Linked DNA regions of Homo sapiens: region 1 is linked to region 2. The links are contacts of gene promoters, found by promoter capture Hi-C in human tissues and cell types (Jung and others, 2019). All regions are on one chromosome and are shown on one strand. Each heading gives the region's core, a stretch centred on a gene start or on the middle of the fragment in contact. The rest is flanking DNA. Distances are from core to core; before and after follow the strand shown. Region 1 holds the start of DCD (dermcidin). Region 2 has its middle 14 kb from the start of PPP1R1A.

What was found. Contacts are between HindIII fragments. The study calls those that stand out against the background at their distance.
Region 1: a contact is called between the fragment with the promoter of DCD here and a fragment that was not itself captured in region 2, in 1 of the 25 tissues and cell types used here (hippocampus).

What each region holds. Positions count from the first base shown.
Region 1 is chr12:54,646,404-54,654,204 of GRCh38, reverse strand. DCD (dermcidin) reads left to right here and starts at 5,840. Exons shown (of 5, transcript NM_053283.4): 1 at 5,840-5,959; 2 at 7,046-7,084. The coding sequence starts at 5,902. The HindIII fragment of the contact is 4,939 bases long and covers 3,056-7,801 here.
Region 2 is chr12:54,598,851-54,605,911 of GRCh38, reverse strand. No RefSeq gene overlaps it. Among named protein-coding and RNA genes, the nearest start is that of PPP1R1A, 14 kb to the right of the region's middle. The HindIII fragment of the contact is 4,642 bases long and covers 3,456-7,061 here.

The DNA of each region.
Region 1 (7,801 bases), core at 4,591-7,090, 48 kb before region 2:
TTCTGGCAATTGCCTATAAAATTCAGGCAGTTAACCTTTTGACATTTGACCAAGATGACTGGTTAGCTTCCACCAGCTCAGAGAAACAAGGCATTACTGTAGTGCCAATGGGTGCGTAACAGAAACAGCAGTGAAGTCAGTTAGGATCAGCGTGAGATGGCCAGGTAAAGGCCCTTATGTCCGCCCAGATACAGGAATCAACCTTCCATCCTCGTAAATGCAGGGTCACCTCCTCCCTCTGTGTTCCACATTCCCCACCCCACTGTCTAGGATAGGACACTGTACCCAGATAGGGAAGAATGAAGAACAGGGGAAGAACATGCAGAACAGGAGAAGGGGCAGATTAGCACCCCAGCAAGCACCAGGGTCTACAACCAGGTGTCCACGGACAATTGCCCCCTCAAGGAAGCCAGAGAACTGGAGTGTTTTTCTTTAACCACATCCAGGAGAAAAGGAATTGCAGTCTTCTGGGTACCATCCCTGCCCCCATTCCCATCCCATGCCTCCCTCTCCATAATGAGTAACAGGCTAAGCTTGGTAATGAATATTACAGACTTGTTTTAAATTCATGAAAAGCATCTTTTTTAAGTGTTGGGGGAAAAAAGGTATTTACCTTACAGGCCTCTGCTCCCTCCCCACAATTCCTGGGAGTACCTCCTCCTTTCTTTCCTGAGGCCCAGGTAGGGAAGGGAGGCAAGGAGGAGTACCGAGAAACTGCTCCTTGGCAGTGCTGATTGCAGAACCCTGAGGTTCCTCCTCCTGGAATCTCCTCCTGGAAAATACTTGTGCAAATAGCAAGAACTGTTCCTGAGGGCTGTGTAATGATCTGTCCGAGATGACGTTCCTACTGAGAAGGGAGCATCGCCCTCTGCCTTCATGTACCTCCCACTCAAATGTGCGTGCGCACACACACACACACACGCACACACATGCACACACATGTGCCCTCCCCATACTCAAGCCTCTCCATCTCCGGCCCTATCACTCACTTGATTTCAGATCTTCAGGAATGGAGCACTTCCTCTCCCTCACTTTCCTGACCATAATGCCCCTGAGTGCTTCCTCTAACGTTTCCCCTCTTCTCAACATCCCTGAACTGCTTCAGACCTTCATTTTTCCCTTCTAGGTACTCCTTTATGGGTCATATTAATATCGAATTATTTAGCATAACTTTATTTCCAAGCCGAGACTATGAGCTCCATGAGGGTGGATACCAACTCATACTTATCCCTCAGATGCCAGTACCCAGTACCTGCAAAATGAATGAAGCCCCTGCCTACCTTTCTCTGAATTCTCCTTGCCCTGCACAGATCTCCACTGCCCACCTTTGATATTAGACTTAATTCACCTCCTGACTCCCAACTCTTAACCACATTATTCCCACACTGGACTTCTGAACCTACCTGACCTTTTCTTTCTGAGGAACCAGCTGGAAGACATCAGTTAAACAGAAACGGATTCTGTCCAAAGGCAAGTATTCCCCATATCTTAATCTTTCTTCTGGGCCCTTCCTGGGGAATCACTCGATGAAGTGCATGAAAATTGAAGGCCCAGTGCTGACTCTTTTCACCACGGAACACCAAAGAGACTCTCCACACCTTTGAAAACATGCAAGCTCTCTTTCCTGACCCAAGGATGCTTCTATGGCCTGAATTGTCAGGTTTCTACAGGCATAAGCCCACATTACAAGACAGAGAAAGAAAGCTATCAAGCTAGGGTTGAATAAACCCCACAGATATTCCAGCAATGAGTGCATTAAATTGAGAAACTGAAGCGAGAGGATCGCTTGAGCCCAGAAGTTTGAGGGTGCAGTGAGCTATGATGGCATCTCTACACTCCAGCCTGGATCACAGAGCAAGATCCTGTCTCTTAAAATAAAAAAAGAGTGTATTTAAAAAGCAGTTCAGCTTGCCTCTAGGAGCTGGGGCAGGTATCACCTGGGAAAAGGCAGGAGGAAATTTTCTGGGTTACTGGTAATGCTTCATATCTTGATTGGAGTCTGGGTTACATCAGTAGATGCATTTGACAAGACGAAAAAATACAGTTAATATGTATGTTTCATTGTATAGTTTCATTGTATGTAAGTTTTACCTCAAAGAAAAAAACTACAAACAAATATTAAATAGTTTCTTAAAAAGCAGCTTGGCATATCTCTTTCCAACAGATTAATGTTATTAGTCTAATCTAAGCTTTATCCACCAGTCCACATCTCTTGCCCAAATTCTGAAGGTTTCTAGCCCCACTCACTTGTAGGTTTCTAGCTGCACTTCACCAAAAGTTACTGCATTCTAACTGTGTGTCTGGCATCCTCACTGGGGCTGGGGTGCACAGACAAATTAAACATGGTCCTGCACTGCACAGCTGAAGTCTAGTGTGGAAAACCAAGCACTAAACAGACAATCCCAATACCATCGAGGTGATGCACAGATAAAGAGAAGAGCAAGGGGCTGGTGGAAGTGCATAGCCCAGAACTCTGACTTCACTTTGGTGGGGAGAGGAAGGAAGACAAGAAGAATGCCCAGAAAATCTTCCAGGGGCTGGGCCCACTGGCTCAAGCCTGTAACTGCAGCACTTTGGGAGCCGAGGTGAGCGGATCACGAGGTCAAGACATCGAGACCATCAAGACCATCCTGGCCAACATGGTGAAACCCCATCTCTACTAAAACTACAAAAATTAGCCAGGGGTGGTGGTGGGTGCCTGTAGTCCCAGCTACTTGAGAGGCTGAGGCAGGAGAATCGCTTGAACCTGGGAGGCGGAGGTTGCAATGAGCTGAGATTGCACCACTGCACTCCAGCCTGGTGACAGAGCGTGACTCCGTCTCAAGAAAAAAGAAAAGAAAAAAAGAAAATCTTCCAGGAAGAAGGTATTTCTGATCTGAATCTTAAAGGATGAGTAGGAAAAAGCTCTGTCATCTAATCGTAGGAGGGCATTAAAGACAATACACGGAGGAAAATACGTGAAGAGGCAGAAGCAAGAAAAAATTAAATCTATGCAAGAAACTGAAAGAAATTTAATGTGACTGAGGCAGAGTCTTGATGAGGGAATGAGAAGGGTTGAAACTGAAGGGACGGACAGAAGCCAGCTCATGAAAGATGGTGTGTGCTCTGCACATAGTTTGTCTACTATAAATCACTTAGACAGCTGGGAGTTTGAACTTGAGACTGTCAGAGGGAAAACCATTTGTGAAGCTGTTTCTTCAGTGAACATAAAAAATGGCAAGGCCCCCAGGCAGAGGCTTCTGAGCCAGAGCCCTGGGATTGACAAAGAGGCAGAACTTCATAGACCCCGGTGTCCTTGTACATAGGGGGCCAAGAGGAGGAAAAATGTAAAATTACTCTCAGATCTCTATTTAGATAACTGGGTGAATGTCAATACTGTTAATCAGAATGGAAAATGGTGCAGGAGGAGGAGCAGGTGATGGGGAAGATGTGGGGAACGTAGGTGAGGCCAGTTGCAACCCCTAGGGTTCATCAGTGCATTACTGCCCATCCATTAGTGGATATTAGTGTTCAGGAGAGAGGTCTGGGCCGGAATGAAGATGTGGGAGCCAGGAAGTGTGACTCCAAGAATGAGTCACACAGGAGAGTTTGTAAGAGGAGAGAAGAAAAAGGCTAAGAATAGAACACTGGAGAATATCAAAGGGGCAGGCAAGGTGAGTCAAAGTGGGACTGAAGGGTGGCCCAAAAAAGGAGAGAAAGAAAGAAAACCCCAGCACCTCAAAAGATGAGTGGCTCTAACAGTGTCAGAGCCCACCGAGATCAGATAAGATAAAGGCTGAAAAGTGGCGACTGTATCCGAGTACCTTGGCAAGGATGTATCTCGGTTCCAGGGATGGTGGTGCAAACATTACAGGGTGATAAGAACATAAAGCAAAACACGGATGTTGAGGCCAAAAAAAAAATGGAGTTGTTTTCAAAAAGCTTGGTTGCAGAAGGATTGGAAAGAAGCTAGATAGGGAGAGTATAAAGGGAACATTTTGCTTATTTTTAAGATGTCTGTATGTTGAAGGAAAAAAGCCAAGAAAGTCTCACAATGAACCACACAACAGGAGAGATGGTGAGAGCTCAGATGGACTGAGTTCCCATGGAGGTGAGAGGTAGACATCCAGAGAACAGGGAAGAGCCCCAGAAAGTTGACCCAGAAAGTGGATCTGAGCTATTCCTGTTCGAATTTCACAAGTACCCTGGGTCACACTGTGGAGATGAGAGTCAGAGAGATTATGTGACATGCCAAAATCATTCAGCCTCTAAGTGGTGGAGCACAACTTTGCTTCAATCCCATAGGCTAGGAAGAGCATGCTTTGTCTACCAGGACAGAGTCCCCTGCTACCATCAATTGTCCCTTCATCTGTCTGAGATCCTTGCCTACTGTGTATCCCCTCAAGGCAAGACCACAGTCTACTCATCTTTATCTGTCTGGGTCCAACACGGTGTCTGGCACAGACAGAGCACCTCAGGAAACAAATCTCAGTCCATTTTCACCAAGGTCCCAGGAACAGGGCAAGGGCAGGCTCCACTCCGTGGAGAGAAGACATCTCAAGGAAGTAACTGGCTTTGTGAGGAGCAGAAACTAAGGTTCCAAGTTATCCTCAGCTCCCCAGCTTGGGTCTGGAATAGATGGAGGAGGGAGCTGACCAGTTTTGACACATGTATTCCTCACACGAAACCTGTAGGATTAAAATGATCATTTCTCACCATCAAATGCAAAACAGCTGAAGTGGAACACAAGAGCTGGAGTCAATAATACTGTATTGAATTTGGGATTTTTGCTGGAAGAGCAGATTTTGGGTGCTCTTACACATACACACACACACACACACACACATACAGAGAGACACACACACAAAAGGCTAATTATGTAAAATCATGGATGTGTTCATTTGCTTGATTATAGTAACCATTTCACTAAATACATGTATATCAAAACTTCATGTTACACCTTAAATATTACCATAAAATAAAAGAAGAAAGAAAAACAATTGAAGTGGGGCAGGTAAATTGCCTCTCTGAAGGCCACACAGCTAGTAAACAACAAAATCGAGTCATAAACCCACATCTCCAGGACTTTCTGCCATTTCGAAGAAAACACAAGTCCGCAGGAAGGGATTCTGAGGCAGAGAGAAGCACCTTTGGATTCTCCACTTCTCTGGATTATCCACACCACTGGCCTCCCTCCCCTATATGAAGGGCAAACTGGGAACTGACTTCATATTCTGGTTAACTTACCAGGAGAATTTTCTGGGGTAGAGGATCATTAGCTGGGACTGAAGACACCCTGGTCAGGGCCTACTGAGGCTGGGAAGCTCTGGTTACCACATGGAGACCCCTAGAGAGGACATCAGCCTCTCTGGACCTTAGTCAGGTGGGATCCCCAAATGCTGTGAGGGCAGCCCCCTAGGGTGGGCTTAACCCACTCAAGGGAAGCCTCAGCCACCCCCACTCTCTCCTAAGGAGGCTGGATCTGACATCTTGGGCCCCCCTTCTGTTTCCAGGTGGAAGGAGAGCCTTCTGGGCACAGCCCTCCTGCCAGGGCCCTCTCCAGAAACCTCTCACAGTCTTCCCCAGGACCCCAGATGCAATCAGAGATGGGAGCCCAGGGACAAGCGAGATGGGAAGGGGAGAGGCAGGAAAAGGATGCCAGTCAGGACAGTGCCAACTCCAGAGCTGCTGTCCAGGACCTACCTGCAGGGAAGGCGGGCACCAGCCAGCCCCAGCCAGCCTTTGTTGACTTAACAGGTGGCTCTGAGGTGGGAGAAGAGGAGGAGGAGAACACACCACTGGAAGACTGGTTCCCATTGGTCCCTGTCATGCTTAAAAAAAGGCCCAGAGAGGCAGTCTTGACACCCTAGATCCCAAGATCTCCAAGGATTTGGTGGCATACCCACTCCAGCACACAGAAGCATGAGGTTCATGACTCTCCTCTTCCTGACAGCTCTGGCAGGAGCCCTGGTCTGTGCCTGTGAGTATGGCTCTTCCCCGACACCCAACCATATAGTCCCCTGAAGACTGGGCCCTGCCTTCATTTCCCCTTCCCCTCCTCGCCAGAGGCAGTTCACCCAAGTCTGTCTCTGTAGCCCACTCCTGCCTCCCACTAGGTTCTCCACACAGGGACTCTATGGTCAGAGGAAGCCAGGAGCCCTGTGGCCCCAGCCTGGCTCTCCATTGCCTCTCCTCTCAGTCTGTGATTGGCCCACTCTGCTCCAACCACTCTGGCATTCTTTTTCCCCTCAATGAACCAAGCCATTTCCCACTGCCAAGACTTTTGCACATCCTCTTGTCTTTTCCCCTGCCCATTATTTCACCCACCCACGTCAACCTCCTTCCTACTCAATTTCCAAGTGTCCGCCCTGCTAGCTCTCTGTGTCCATGTATTTCCTCACAGCAGGCTTGCTGAAGCCCCAGAATCATTTTGGCCCCTATTTTGCATTTTCTTGCCTCCTGTATTTTTCCTTCCTAGCACTATCACAAATGTAATTAAATAATTGTTTATGTAATTATGTTAATTCCTCCAAATCCCCCATTGACTGTCAGCTTCCCCGAGCAATTACACTGTCTGTCTTCCTCACAGCTGTATCTCTAGCCTCTAACACCATGTCTGGTGCATAATGCGTGCTTCATTCATGCTTTTGGAAGAATAAAGAAATGGAGGGAAGGTCCTTCTGAGGTCATTCTATCAGGTGACAATCAGAACAACTCCTGCCCTGTCACTAGAGCAGGTGCTGTGGTCATGCCCTCGTGGTCATGCCCCTTCAACTTTCATTATGAAACTTGGACATCTAAGACATAGAAGAGAGTCAGAGAATGATTCCATTTCCATAGGGATGTTCTGAGTAGCCTAGGTCTAGGGAGGATAACAGAGAGAGGGATTTGGTTGAGATACCAAAAAGCATTTCTAGTGGGCCCCTTGTGAAGCAGAGATTTCTCTCCTGTCTGTCCACTGCCACACTCCTGAGATTAGAGGCCTGGGAATTCTAGGCAGCCCTGGCTGGATACAGCTCATGCAACTGTGCCCTACTTGACATGGTCACTGTTCCCTCCTTTGCAGATGATCCAGAGGCCGCCTCTGCCCCAGGATCGGGGAACCGTGAGTCCTTTCTCTTCCTCCTGCCCCAGTCCTGGGTGGGAGGGTTAATGACTTGGGATATGAGTGGAGGAAGTCAGAGAAGCAGAAGGGGGGTCCGGGGAAGGAGAGTTGGGAGGCCGACTTTTAGGAGACATGGAGAAGGGAGACTTCCTGAGAGACTCATGCACTGGAGAAGGACAGAGCATGGGGGAAAGGGTGGCCCTGTCTGGAAGTAGAAGTGGAGTAAGAAAAATGGGAAAGAAAAGAATACTTTTCTTGAGCAAGAGGAGGAACTTCACATTAGATGGGTTCAGAGGTTTTCATCTGCCCCACCTTCACCAACAATTTCAATTCAAAAACCTTTCACGTGGTTTCCCATTTCTCATCACGAAACTCTCACCTCCTAGCCTGACATTCAGGGTATCCATGATCTAGATCCAGGGTACTTTTCAAATATAATTTCCCTAGACTCCACTGCTTGCATTCTCCACATCAAACGTTATACATTTGTTTCATCAGACAGCATGAGTAACTTTCTACTACCCAACGTTCCTCTTCCTGGGTACCTTTTCAACCCCTACCTGTCCGTGCTCTAACAAGCTTCAAGTCCCAGCTGCTCTCTGAAGCCCTCCCTGCCTGGTGTGTATGGTGCCTCTGTCCCAGTCTCTCCTTTCATCCCTCCCTCTTCTGGGCTTCCCATATATAGCAGTTTTGTCTCTTTTCCTAGACTGTAAGCCC
Region 2 (7,061 bases), core at 4,527-7,026:
CAGGGTCTCATTCTGTCATTCTGTCACCCAAGCTGGAATGCAGTGGCACAATCTCTGCTCACTGCAACCTCTGCCTCATGGGCTCAAGCAATCCTCCTAATTTCAAAAGGCACAAAGAACAAAATTGAAATACACTCTTTCAGTGCAAGAAAAGTAAAGTCCAAAATTCCTCCCCTCCCAATGTTTTCCTCATCCTTAGCCCAGAGTCTCATTCAAAAGGCATCTAGGTATGTCCATTTGTCTAGACATCTCCATTCTTAAAGAAAATTCATTTCCCAGCCAGGCATGGTGGCTCTCGCCTGTAATACCAACACTTTAGGAGGCCAAAGTGGCAGGATCACTTGAGGTCAGGAGTTTGAGAGCAGCCTGAGCAACATAGCAAGACCCCCATCCTTATTTAAAAAAAAAAAAATATATATATATATATATATATAAAATTAGCTGGGCATGGTGGTGCACACATATAGTCCCAGCTACTTGGGTGGCTGACACAAAAGGGTCGCCTGAGCCCAGGAGTTCAACGCTGCAGTGAGCTATGATTGCGCCACTACCCTCCAGCCCAGGGTGACAGAGCAAGGCTATGTCTCTGAATAAATAAATAGAAAATCCATTCCCAAAAACTCATTCTCTGTCTCCCCCAACCAGCTGCCAGGCTCTGGCTGGGCCTTCAAACATGAAAAACTTTGTGACCTGTTGGGATGAGGTGGAGAGAGTGGTTTTTTTTTCTTTTTTTTTTTTTTCCTTCTCTTTTTTTTAGACGGAGTCTCGCTCTGTCAGCAGGCTGGAGTGCAATGGTGCGATCTCAGCTCACTGCAACCTCCACCTCCTGGGTTCAAGCAATTCTCCTGCCTCAGCCTCCCAAGTAGTTAGGACTACAGGCACGGGCCACCATGCCTAGCTAATTTTTGTATTTTTAGTAGAGATGGGGTTTTACCATGTTGGCCAGGATGGTCTCAATCTCTTGACCTTGTGATCCGCACGCCTGGGCCTCCCAAAGTGCCGGGATTACAGGCGTGAGCCACCACACCCAGCCTGGGAGTGGTTTTTGTCATTTTTGTTGCTCCAGCTGTTTGGTAGAATAAGATCTGGAAGAGAAAGGGGGGGGTACACACACTCTCCCTATCACTTTAGCTTCCCAATGTGGAGATAGGGTTAGGTACCTGCGTCTCCATCCTCTCTCTGGCCCGGGGTGAGCCACCGCCTAGGTCTCTAAGGTGTGACTACAAGAAGGATCATGGTGAAGCCTCACAAATCTGTAGAGGATGAGGAGGACACAGAGCCACCAGCATGGGGCATGTTCCCTGGGAGTCAGGGGAAAGGCTGCTATGCCTGGAGGCAGGGGACTGGCTCCCTCCTGGTCTTTTTCCCCCTGAAATGTGAGTAGTTCCTCTGGCATCTACAAGGTTGACTTAATCCAACCCCAAGGAGCTCATGGGTCCCTCCTTTTCAAAGTTAGAGTAACTAGGATACACGAAATACCATGCACCAGCTCTGCACCAACCAAACTCAGAAACACAAGCACATTCTCAGGCCCCAGAGCAATTATGTGCCCAGGCCCTAGTGCATGGTTTTTTGTGGGGCTTTTAAGGGTTGTTTTGTTTGTTTGTTTGTTTGTTTGTTTGTTTTGCAGGGGTAGAAGGTGGAAGAAAAAAACCTTCTACACAGGTTCAAGGTGCAGAGAGAGATGTCATGGAGGGCCAGCGCTCAGCCGCAGTGCCTCAGGTATACCTGGCTCCATGCAGGTTCTCCAGCCACACTTCTGCTGCTGCTTGTGGGCCTCATCTCATCTGTGTTCCTCCTACATGTCATTATCAGTGAGCAGCTCACGGCAGCATAGCGGGAGGAATTTGTCTTGCTTAACCAGGGAAGGTTCAGTTGCGTTGGAAGAGGGGATGGCAAGGCATCTCCATGTCAGTCTCCTCCTCAAGGCTCAAAAGACACATGGGGCACTTGAGCTGTGCAGGAATCCCATGGCTAATGCCAGCATCATACTGTGGCAGAAACTAAGTGGTATCTGCAAGAAGAGAGAAAGCCTTGACTTCACAAGTGGGAGAAATCTCTCGTGGAGTGACTAATGTTGGCATTAAGTTTGCCTTCAGAGGGTGGGGTCATGTATACAGCCTCTTCTTTCAAAGTGGGGGCTTAGGATATTTCTATCATCTTATGATATTTAGAAGTTTAAGCTTGATTCAATCATACCACAATGTATACATATATCGAAACATCACATTGTACCCCTTAAATGTATACAACTATGATTTGTCAATTAAAAAATTAAAAATTTTTAGAAAACATAGAATCTCAGACGTGACTAGATCTATTTATTTCACGCATGAATTCCCTTTAGAGTGTATTTCATCTTCTCAGTAATTCTGTGGCATGCTTCCTCAGGACATGGGCAATAACAGCCCCCAAACCCCCATTAAAAAAAAAAAAAACCTGCATTCCTTTGAAACTTACCTAATAATGTTTCACCACTAAACTTCCTGTTCGTCTTCCCTCACTCTGTGCAAGTGACTGGGTCAACGCTCCCTCTAGCGGCCTCAAACTGTTTTGCATCGTTGTTAAATCTCTCCAGGCCCCATTCACCCTCCGTGATCTAGAAATAAATAAATATTCTGCTCTCTTCTAGTTCCATCCTTAAAACTATCTAGGCATAGAGCCATTTCCCTTCTCTTTTAATGTATCTCAAGCATGGGCTCTATGAACTCAAACTTTCTCCTGAGAAAATCTCATCTTTTCTCCCAACTCAATCAACAGAACTGCCCTCTTTTTTCTTTTCCCTTTCTGTCTGACTTGTCTCACTATAAGACCAAGACTTGTACCTTATATGAACCCCACGTTTCCCTGATTCTTAGGAAAATATGATTTCTAAAGAGTTTTCCAGGTACAGGACTTGTTCATTTCTCCCATACTCTTCAAGTTTATAGTAATTCCATGGAGTTTTTCTTCACTTTCACCCAGTGACATTTCCTCCACATAAAGGATCCCATTATTTTTATCTGTATGAAGTCGACCACACCTCTGTGGTTAATCCCACAGTGGGACTCTGAAATCTGAAACCCTGGCTGGAGCTTCATAAATGTACAACCCCAAGCCACTTTGAGACTACGTGGTAGGAAATAATCCCAGGAGCCTGTGATCAGGCCATAAACAAAATCCCTCCTGAGTCTTCCTGCCACCCTAAATGCAGTTCAAAACAAAGCACACATTGGGACCTGCATCTGTGGGTGAGAAAAAAGAACAAGAGAAACGTGTTAAATGAAAACTAGGAAAAAAGTGAACAACAACATAAAAGAAACCAAACTAGACAATCAGTTGGACAGCCAACCTAGCATCACCTACTAAATATTAACACACATCATCTGAAGCCAAAATTTCACAGCCTTATGCTCTGTACCCAAGTGGAATTGGGATAATTTCATTCCAGCCTCAGCTGCACCCACGCAGCTGCAGGTCAGAGTTACCTTTAGAGTGTTTGCTGTTAAAATCCACTGTATTTGGGTCCCCCAAGGCCAGTCTTTGACTTCACCATCACAGCTCCAGGGAGGGCCACCAGCACGTCATCCCTCTGCCCCTCTGAGTCTGGCCAATGGAGAAGGTGTCCAGAGAACAAGGAGCAAAAAGGAAACCAAAACATCGATTGTATTAACAGCCAGACAAGTGCCGGGGAACCCACAGCACTCTGACCTCTCTGGCAAGGCTGAGCTGGAGAATGCTATCGAGACACAAGCCCAAAAGGGGCCTTCTCTCTGTCCTGCCTGAGCCACTAAACGGTGAGAGAAACAGCATGCATCCCCCAGGGAAGAGGTGGGAAGGTGAAGTCCTGTCCAAGTGTGCACCCTCATGAGAGAGGGCAGGAGGGAAAGAGGCAAAGCTGTTGAGGAACATTCCTGTTGATGCATTAACTCCGCCCCCTGGTGAAACGTGGTGTAATAAATGTTCTGTCTCACCAGCTGTCATAGCATCTCACCCTGTGGGAAGGAGCAGTCACCCAGAAGAGAGCCTTTCATCTTGTATTAGTTTTCTAATTACAAATTACCACAAATTTACCAGCTTAAAACAACACAAATTAATTATTTTACAGTTCTGTAGTTCAGGAGTTCCAGATGGGTCTCACTGGGCTAAAATCAAGGCATGTCAGCAGGCAGGGCTGCGTTCCTTTCTGGAGTCTCTAGGGGAGAATTCATTTCCTTGCCCTTTCCAGCTTCTAAAGGCTGTCCACAGTCTTTGGCCCATGGCCCCATTCCTCCATTTTCAAAGCCAGCCCCATCCGGCCAAGGCTTCTCACCCTGCCATCAGTCTAGTTATCTCTTTGGAATCCTTTGTCCACATTTAGGGATGCTTGAGATTATACCAGGCCCACCCAGATAATCTAGGAGAATTTCCCTATTTTAAGACCAGCTGATTAGCAACCTCAGTTCAATCTGCAACCTTAATTCTCTGTTGCCAGTGTAACCCAACACACTTACAGGTTCTGTGATTTCCGACGTGGACCTCTTTGTGGGGCCATTAGTTATTCTGCTCCCACACATCTCCCATGGGATTAGCCACCACTCACATCCCCCCTTAAGCCATAGGAATCAGTCACCAAAGGCCTTGAAACCATTCAGGTAGGCACCAAGGTCTATTCCTTGTCCTGATTCCTCTTGTAGAAAGGTGGGCAACCAAGATCCTTGGGTTCTGTCTCTCTGTTGACCACAGTCACTTCCAGGACCAAGCCAAAGCTTTCAGATATATTTGTCATCCAGAACCCCTACCCTGTTTGGCTCTGTCAGCCCCAAATCTAGCCCAATTCTCTCTGCCCAGTCTCTCTCTGCCAAACCCTTTTACTATGCCCTCTAGAACTCCTGATCAGTGGTCAGTAAATTCCTTGGTATTCCCAATGTCTTGTTTTGAATTTTCTCTCTATTGCTTAATCTCCCTTTTTTTTCTTTCTTCTCCCAACTTTCAACTGATACCCGTTTTTTCTTCTTTCTTCTCCCATCTTTCAACTGATATTGCCTAATCTAAAATAACATTTTAAGGCCAGGTGTGGTGGCTCATGCCTGTAATTCTAGAGCTTTGGGAGGCCAAGGTGGGAGGAACGCTTGAGGCTAGGTTTTCAAGACCAGACTAGGCAACATAGCAAGACCCTGTCTCTAAAATAAAAACAATTAGCTGGGCATGGTGGCACGTGCCTGTAGCCCCAGCTACTTCAGAGGCTGAGGTGGGAGGATCACTTAAGCCCAGGAGTTCAAGGCTGCAGTGAGCTACAATCATGCCACTGTACTCCAGCCTGGGTGAGAGAGTAAGAACCTGTCCTTTAAAAAATAATAATAATAATAATTTCAGATTTTCTGAGACTCTGACAACCTCTATTTCACTCTCAAGTGGAAACTGCTTTCTCCTTTAGCCACCAACCGCCTCAGAATCCGAAGGTGGGAAGAAGGATTTTCCTCCTTGTTCTCCACTGCCACTTCTAAACCATTCCTCTTCCGTTCTACTCCAAAATCTCCCCTTCTTTGAAGCTCAGAATACATGCTGCGCCCTCCTACCAACCCCTCTCCCTTACAGGGAGCCCCTAACCTCAGCACCTGGTCTTCCTCTTCCCACTTGCTCCTGTCCTTTTTTGAGGACTGTCAGTGTTCATGCCGATGACCCCCCAACACTCTGACTTCTCAGTTCTTAACCTTTGTACCTCAGCCTACGCGCCACCACAGCCACTTCCAAAATCCTAAATTCAAGAATCCCACGTCTGGCCACAATTTCCTGCCCTTCCATCTCCATTACAGTAGAAGTCCAGTTGTAACAATTCTTTGACCTGATCCAGACCTCCGATTCACTGACCCTGCCATTTTTTCCATGTAGCTAATAACTTCATTTCCCAAGCTTCCTTACAGACAGATGTGGCCAAGTGACTAGGTTTTGGACAGGAGGATATGAACAAATACAATAAGGGCAAATGACAGGTGGTGCCCTTGACAGAAAGAGTGTGTCCTCCCTTTCTCCTTTCTAAATCCTTCACGCTGACTGGAATGAGATAAAGGCATGGGAGCTAGAGCAGCCCTCTTAGGCCACTAAATGGAAGCTACATATTGAAAAGAAAGGGTAACGAGATAGAATGTCCAGAATATTGTGGAGCCACCATATTATCTCTGTTTAACTTCTGTTCTGTTGAAGCCATGCCATTACAATCTTGTTACTACCCCTGGACTAATGCCTTAATAGACCTCTTCATCTCATCTTCCTGTCTCGTTAAGTATCACCCCCATATACTCAATTAGTCAAACCAAAAACCTAAGAGTCAATCTTGATTTCTGCCTTTCCCTCAATCCCCACAATTAATTCACCAACAAGCCTACAGATTCTATCTCTGAAATATATCCTGACTTCACCCCTCTCTCCCCATCTCTCTGCCACCACCCTGTTTCCACTTCCACTGTTGACCACCTGAACCTCTGCAATGGCTTTCTGAGTAAGCTCTCTGCCTCCACTCTAAGCCCATACAATCCAGGCTCCGTCAGTAACTAGACAAGTGGTCTTTTCAAAGTATATATCAGATCAGGTCTGCTCCTTAAAATTATCAGGTGGTTCCCATTACACTTCAAATAAAATCCAAACTCTCTAGCAGGGTCTACAAGGCCCTGTGTGGTCTGGCTTCCAAATATCCCCCCAACCTCATCTCATTCCGCTCTCCTGCCCAATACAGCGTGACCATGCTGGCGCCCTTCACGGTCCTTGGACACACCAGCCTCTTTCCCAGTTTCATCCTTGTTCACTCTGCTTAGAATCCTCTTCCTCTTGCTGTCTGCATAGCTGACTCCCTCTCACCCTTCAGGTCTTGGTTCAAATGTCATCTTATCAGAGAGCTTCCCTGGCCACTCCCACCCATCCTCCCCCCAGTTACTTCTGTCACCTCGCCTTGTTTATTCCCCTCATTGCATTTCCTATGCTCTGAAATGTTCCTACTTTTACATTTATTCACTTGTTTATATACTTTTTTACCTCACAAAAATGTAAGCTCCATGAAACCTGGGAACGTATCAATCATTATTATTCACTATTTTCTCTCCAGTACC